Regions from separate parts of the Homo sapiens genome. Here region 1 is linked to region 2. Evidence: promoter capture Hi-C in 16 types of primary human blood cells and fetal thymus (Javierre and others, 2016). All regions are on one chromosome and are shown on one strand. Each heading gives the region's core, a stretch centred on a gene start or on the middle of the fragment in contact. The rest is flanking DNA. Distances are from core to core; before and after follow the strand shown.

Evidence for each region. Contacts are between HindIII fragments. The CHiCAGO score rates a contact against its expected background, and 5 or more counts as called.
Region 1: a contact is called between a fragment that was not itself captured here and the fragment with the promoter of CHMP4C in region 2, in 1 of 17 cell types (neutrophils). The highest score is 5.3, in neutrophils.

The regions. Positions count from the first base shown.
Region 1 is chr8:81,816,088-81,819,159 of GRCh38, forward strand. The region is part of intron 4 of SNX16 (sorting nexin 16); the gene reads right to left. Among named protein-coding and RNA genes, the nearest start is that of SNX16, 25 kb to the right of the region's middle. The HindIII fragment of the contact is 4,872 bases long and covers 1-3,072 here.
Region 2 is chr8:81,730,680-81,733,815 of GRCh38, forward strand. It overlaps CHMP4C (charged multivesicular body protein 4C), which reads left to right and starts at 1,769. Exons shown (of 5, transcript NM_152284.4): 1 at 1,769-2,137. The coding sequence starts at 1,948. The HindIII fragment of the contact is 11,241 bases long and covers 1-2,814 here.

The sequences.
Region 1 (3,072 bases), core at 291-2,790, 85 kb after region 2:
ACAACTCTATGTACACATCAAAATATAAATGTGGATCCTTATTTTAGATTTGCAAAATAAAATCTTTACAAATTTCCTTTTACAAAGGATTTTCTTTTTTTTTTTTTTTAAGACGAGTCTCGCTCTTGTTAACAGCCCAGGCTGAAGTCTGGAGTGCAGTGATGTGATCTCGGCTCACTGCAACCTCCGCCTCCTGGGTTCCAGCGATTCTCCTGCGTCAGCCTCCCGAGTAGCAGGGATTAGAGGCTTCCACCACCACACCCAGCTAATTTTTGTATTTTTAGTAGAGATAGTGTTTCTCCATGTTGGCCAGGCTGGTCTCCCACTCCTGACCTCAGGTGATCCGCCCGCCTCAGCCTTCCAAAGTGCTGGGATTACAGGCACGAACCACCGCGACCGCACCCAGCCAGGATTTCTTGATACACTACAAAAAGGGGATGTCAACTTATGCTAAAAGGGAATGGGGCTTTTGGTTTCAGATTAGGCCAGACAGGTTGATGATGTCAGGAGGTGTCCATGAAGAGTTAAATGGAATTTTACATATCTTATTGTATTTAATATGCTCACATATTCTATTGTATTTAATTTTCACGACAATCAGGTAAGATTAGGATAAGTATTGGATCTTCATTCACAAATGATACCGAATTTCAGAGAGGTGAAATTACTTGCCTATTGTCAGAAAGTGCAGGTGGTAGAGCTGTACTTTCAATCTGTTCCCTGAGTGTGAATATGTGTCCTTTTCTACCTTTAAATTCTTCTGTCTTATGCTTTGGTTCATTTGGATTCTCCTTGCTGGACACTTCTCTCTGAAAACATCTGATTTATCTGCAACCCTCTCTAGTCATGGCCTCTAGTAGAAAACTGCAGTTGGCTGATAGCACAGAATAGAACAAGGTCTTCTGATGTAGATATTATGCTTCTATCCACCCATTATTTATACTGGGGCACCTGCTATTACATACAAATGACTCCTAGGAAATCAATTGATCTGGGATTGAGAGGTCAAGTTTGTATGAAACCCTGAGGAAATAGCACTTAAGACTGAAAGCAAACTGCTAAGAAACATATGGAAGGGTCCTGTTTAATACTTTCAGTATATGACAAATGTGAGACATTATTTTCTTACAGTTTTATATTCAAATTTCCTCATACTTTAATGTTGCTTTTATGTTTACAAATTACTCTACTGGACTGCTACTGCTAGGAAAGAAAAAGGGGTAAAGGAGTACACATATATCCCTTTTTATATCTTTGGTTTACAGTAGAAATTTAGCCAAGATGGACAGTGAATGTTGACAGTGTATCCAGCTGGAGGAATCATTTTGGAGTGGTTATTCTGTTTCATTCACCTTCCCTAAAAATCTTTATGATCTATGGCTCACTAGAGTTCTACTTACATGAAATCCAATGGATTCTTTAAGTTTTTATCCATATAGTTCCAAGGTTATACTCTATGCTTTACTTTCTTTAATCAGTAGCAGAATAAAATTTGAAACTGGCTTTACAATGTTAATTTACATAAAACCTTTTCAGTGGCTCATTACATTTCCTCTGCTTCAACAAGACTCAGTCAGTAAAGAAAGCAGTCAATACCCTCAAACTCTATTTTCTTTCTAAGGAGAGGACACACAAGAATCTCTGGAAGATGGTAGTAATTGAGAAAACAATTCCTTTCTTAGAAATTCTGATACATTTTTCCCCCTAGGAAAGGAAACCCTCACCCTTGCTTGAGAATCACTGACTACATAACTTTATTTAGATCCAGTGAATATTTATTGACTGTCTATGTGTGCCATTATTCCTTTTATTATCTGGAATACATTTTTACTGTGTTTGGGAAACCTATTTTAAAATTGGGGTCAGGTGTTGACTTAATTTACTAAAGGCAGATAAGGAAATCACCTATGGTATCCCTCAGCATTGTTTTAATTATCAGAGCAAATCTGTACTATAAATTCACCTGTTTCTTTGATTCTCTTGAATTTTGTTTAAAGAGTTTTACCGTATTTTCAAACTATGCTCTTAAGAACAACATATTTGACTTTATTGCAAATTTTATAACTATCTGTAATTTAATTTCTACCAAAATAACATTTTGTAGCAAAAACCATCCAACCAACCTTAGTAATGTGTTGATTCTCATGAGATAGCATTATATGAACTACTGTGTAAATAACTGAATTCTTCTTTCATTTTATATAAATACTAAGATTAACTTCTCTGAATATCTTAAATTTTCTTTTTTAAATTAAAAAAATAAAAACAACTTAGAGACATTAATGATCACATTTCCTGTGAAAAGATAGTTCAGGTTGCAAATGTACAAAAGTTATCTTTAAGTATTCTTGTTCAAGTAGAGAATTATTGAATTTTTTTTAACTAGAAGAAACCTAACTTGTCATCTAATCAAACATATCCCATTTAATAATTCCCTCTTTGATACCACTGATAGTTATCTACTCTCTTCAAATAGTTAAGATGAAGAGAAATCTACTTTTTCAAAAGGCAGAACATTTTTATATTGGACAGCTTGAAATGACAAGTAACTTTTTAAAATCTGAGCTGATAGTACCTTCCTCTAACTTCTTGTTGTTATTCCTATTTTATATGTTAGCCTTGCTATTCAAAATGAGGTTATTAGACCAGCCAGTATCAGCATCACCTAGAAACCTGTTAGAAATGCAAAATCTTCCCCTCACGCTTGCTGAATCAGGGTCAGCATTAACAAATCCCAGGTGATTCACAGACACATTACAGTTGGAGAAGCACTACTCTTAAATATACATGATCAATCCTTCCTTCCAAAAACAATCTTTCAAATCTTTCAAGTATGTAAAGATGGCTATCATATCTCCCAAGTAGTTTTTTAAAAGAATATTCTCATTTATTTCAATTGTTCTGTCATATTAATGTTTGGATACTATTTTCTTTTCTTTAAAGCCATGAACTGCTATTAATCCAGATCCATCCTGAACTTTAAAAAAATAGATGTAGAATTAAAAATACTGAATTTTCGTACTGAATCCCTTACAGATAAATGATAGTGTGAAGACAAATACATAACTTTAA
Region 2 (3,136 bases), core at 519-3,018:
TTTGGTTAAGTTATCAACTGAGCCTTGGGTTCTTCTTCTGTCTAACAGAAACAGCAATACCTATTTTGCAGGGTTTATGTAAGGATTAGTGATAAGCATATATTTATTGATAAGCCTGACACATAGTCAGTGCTCAAAAGATGGTAGCTGTTATTACTGTCACTGGAAGGTAAGCTCTTAGAGGGCAGACTATACTTGCATTCCCTGTACCTTACACTCAATAAAGGCTAGTTAAACTGAAAAGCAACGGGAACAATAGCAGAATATGTGCTACTTCTCAACTCTCAAGGGCCTTAAAAATCTAATCAAGAAAATACACTCCAAAACTTATTCATGAAATATTTAGATAATAAAGAAAAACAATACTTACGACAACTTATACATGAAATTAGAGCAAAATGTGTGTTATAGACCATACATGCTTTACATGGCCAGCCAGGAAATGATAGGAGGTGGCTGGCTGCAGTTACTGTGAAATGATAAGTTCACATATTTGTGTGTTAGAAGATGCTTACTGTAAGCCTCCTATGGAAGTGTTCAATTTCTTTGGCAAAATTTTATGCTATCTATGCCAATGTTGGATAAATAGATTAACTTGCTGCTTTGTGTTTGTATGCTTGCAGACAAAATTGTGTTATTGATCTTGGGTATCAAGGTGAATTTGTCAGAGTAATGGGTGTTTTTTTTTTTTTTTTTTCTCTTAAACAGTGGCTGGCTAACAATCAAAAATAGGTTTTGGTAATGTTGGGTAACGTTGCTCAAATACGGCTATATTATGCAGAGCACATGGCAATCGTTGAAGAGTAAAACACAGATAATTCCACTTCTTTGTAGTGTGCTTGACACAGGTTTGCAGCAGTATTGCATCATCTATAAGCATTACATATGGCTGTCCTTTCATCTTACTAAATTATTTGCCAGCAGATCTAATAGATGGGCTGAGATAGTGAGCATGAACAAAAGAATGTTTCTCTTCTCCAGGATATTCTCTACTTTTTGTTACTTAAGTATCTATGTAATAGCATTTGACATACAGCCAAACACCAGGGCAGCCCCATTTAAGGTTTTTGATACACTGAGGATCATTCAGAAAACTTCGGATTCCTAGTTATAGAGTTGAATCCAACCACCAACACACTCCAGAAGTCCTGACATTAGGAAAAGAGATGGCCACCATCTTTCACCCACTTCAAGTCCTGTAAGGATGATCTAGAATCTACACTGTGCCAACTAGCATCCAGGCACACATCAACCTGCCCGGACTACCAAATGCAGAAACAAGCCCAGTAGCAGCAGCTGCTCCGAGCTTGCCCACACACCTGCATCCTAGTGGCAGACAAATATCCTGGAAGCCTTTGTGTCCACACACTCATACCTACATGACATACACTTAGAGGAAAAGATCTGAATATTCTTATTCACAAGAACAGAGGCCTGAATACAGGAACACTATGCTCACGTACACACAAAAGACACGCATGGAATAAAGCATTTTGCATATCCAGTCTTGCGCACTTACACTTTCAGGTCCTGCACAAGACCCCTGGACATCGGTTTGCTTTTCTTTGAGCCATTCACAAACTAGTTCCTCGTTCCTGGGACCGTCCCTAGTGTGGATAAAAGCCAACTTCCCACAGTCTTTGTCGGTCTTTTCAACTTTTCTCTGCTCTCGCTCAACTCCCAGAGGGCCGGGTGGCGCCGGCCAGCCGACGTCCCAGCGGTGGCCTCCCCGCCCAGCCGCTGTGCAGCGGGGCGGGGCCGAACTGGCAGCCAGGAAATGCCCTGGAGTGTGTGTCACCTGTCCAGGACGACTTGTTGATTCCCAGGAGGGCCGCCTTTCCGGTCTGGGTCCCCGAGAGGACTGCCTTGCTCACCTGTCCCCTCGGCGCGGCCCCGGGGAGCTCCCGAGAGGCCCCCGGGATCGCTGGCCCTCCGAACTCCACAGCAATGAGCAAGTTGGGCAAGTTCTTTAAAGGGGGCGGCTCTTCTAAGAGCCGAGCCGCTCCCAGTCCCCAGGAGGCCCTGGTCCGACTTCGGGAGACTGAGGAGATGCTGGGCAAGAAACAAGAGTACCTGGAAAATCGAATCCAGAGAGAAATCGCCCTGGCCAAGAAGCACGGCACGCAGAATAAGCGAGGTAGGCTGGGGTCTGGCCCACAGGCGGGAGCCCATCTGCCTCTAGCCTTTCCCTTGGGGACAATCGGCCCACACCACTGAGGTCCCCAGGTGGCCAGGTTTGCTCCTGCAGTCTTTTCTAGGAACTGGTACTGACTCTTAGGGCACTGACTAGGGTGAGTTGAGCTAGACACTGGCACTGATGGCAAAATGTAAGGGGCCGCCAAAAATCTCAGTAATCAAGATGAACAATACTTTAATGCAATACCTAAAGGACTCAGAACCAATGCCAAAAAAGAAATGATGAAGAAAATATCAAAATTTTAAATAAAGACAAGATTGGTATTGATTTTTTTCATTTGCCTCTAGCTCTTATGTTGTTATGTGCAGCACATCTTTATTTAAAATTATTTTTTATAATGTGATGATTTGTTCATCGTGGATTTTTTAATATTAATTTTGAATTTTAAAAATATTGCATTAAAATATTATTTGTCTTGATTACTGAGTGTTTTCGCACCCCTGTAAATTTTGCTCCTGGTCCAGCTTTTTCTAGGCCAGCCTTGCTGACTCCAACACTAACCATGAAGTTTTCTGCTGTATGTTTGTATATTAAATTACACATTTTAACTTGCACGTAAATCTTCAGAAAAGGATATTCTAGTACGTTGTGGTCTACCTTGCTCCTCAGCTGTGGAAAGCTTTAGCTGGATGTTCGGCAGTTGAAGTCTTAAAAAAAAAAAAGGTAGAGGAATTAATTATTAAATTTCCTATCACTGACTTTTGGCACACACAAGAGACTTTGAGTCAGTAATGATTCTTGGTGTTCCTGTTGCACCTTGAACACCTGTTCTTTGCCAGAGTTAACTGATTTCTTCAGTATACTGCTCCTTCTATTGGAATACCTCTAAACAGCACCTGTGGCACAGATAAAAACTCAGTGAGAAGTTGAAGTGATTTGCTCTTGTAACACCGGGTTCATGGCAGACCCAGAAAAGGAAGTGGCAATATCGGACTCTGC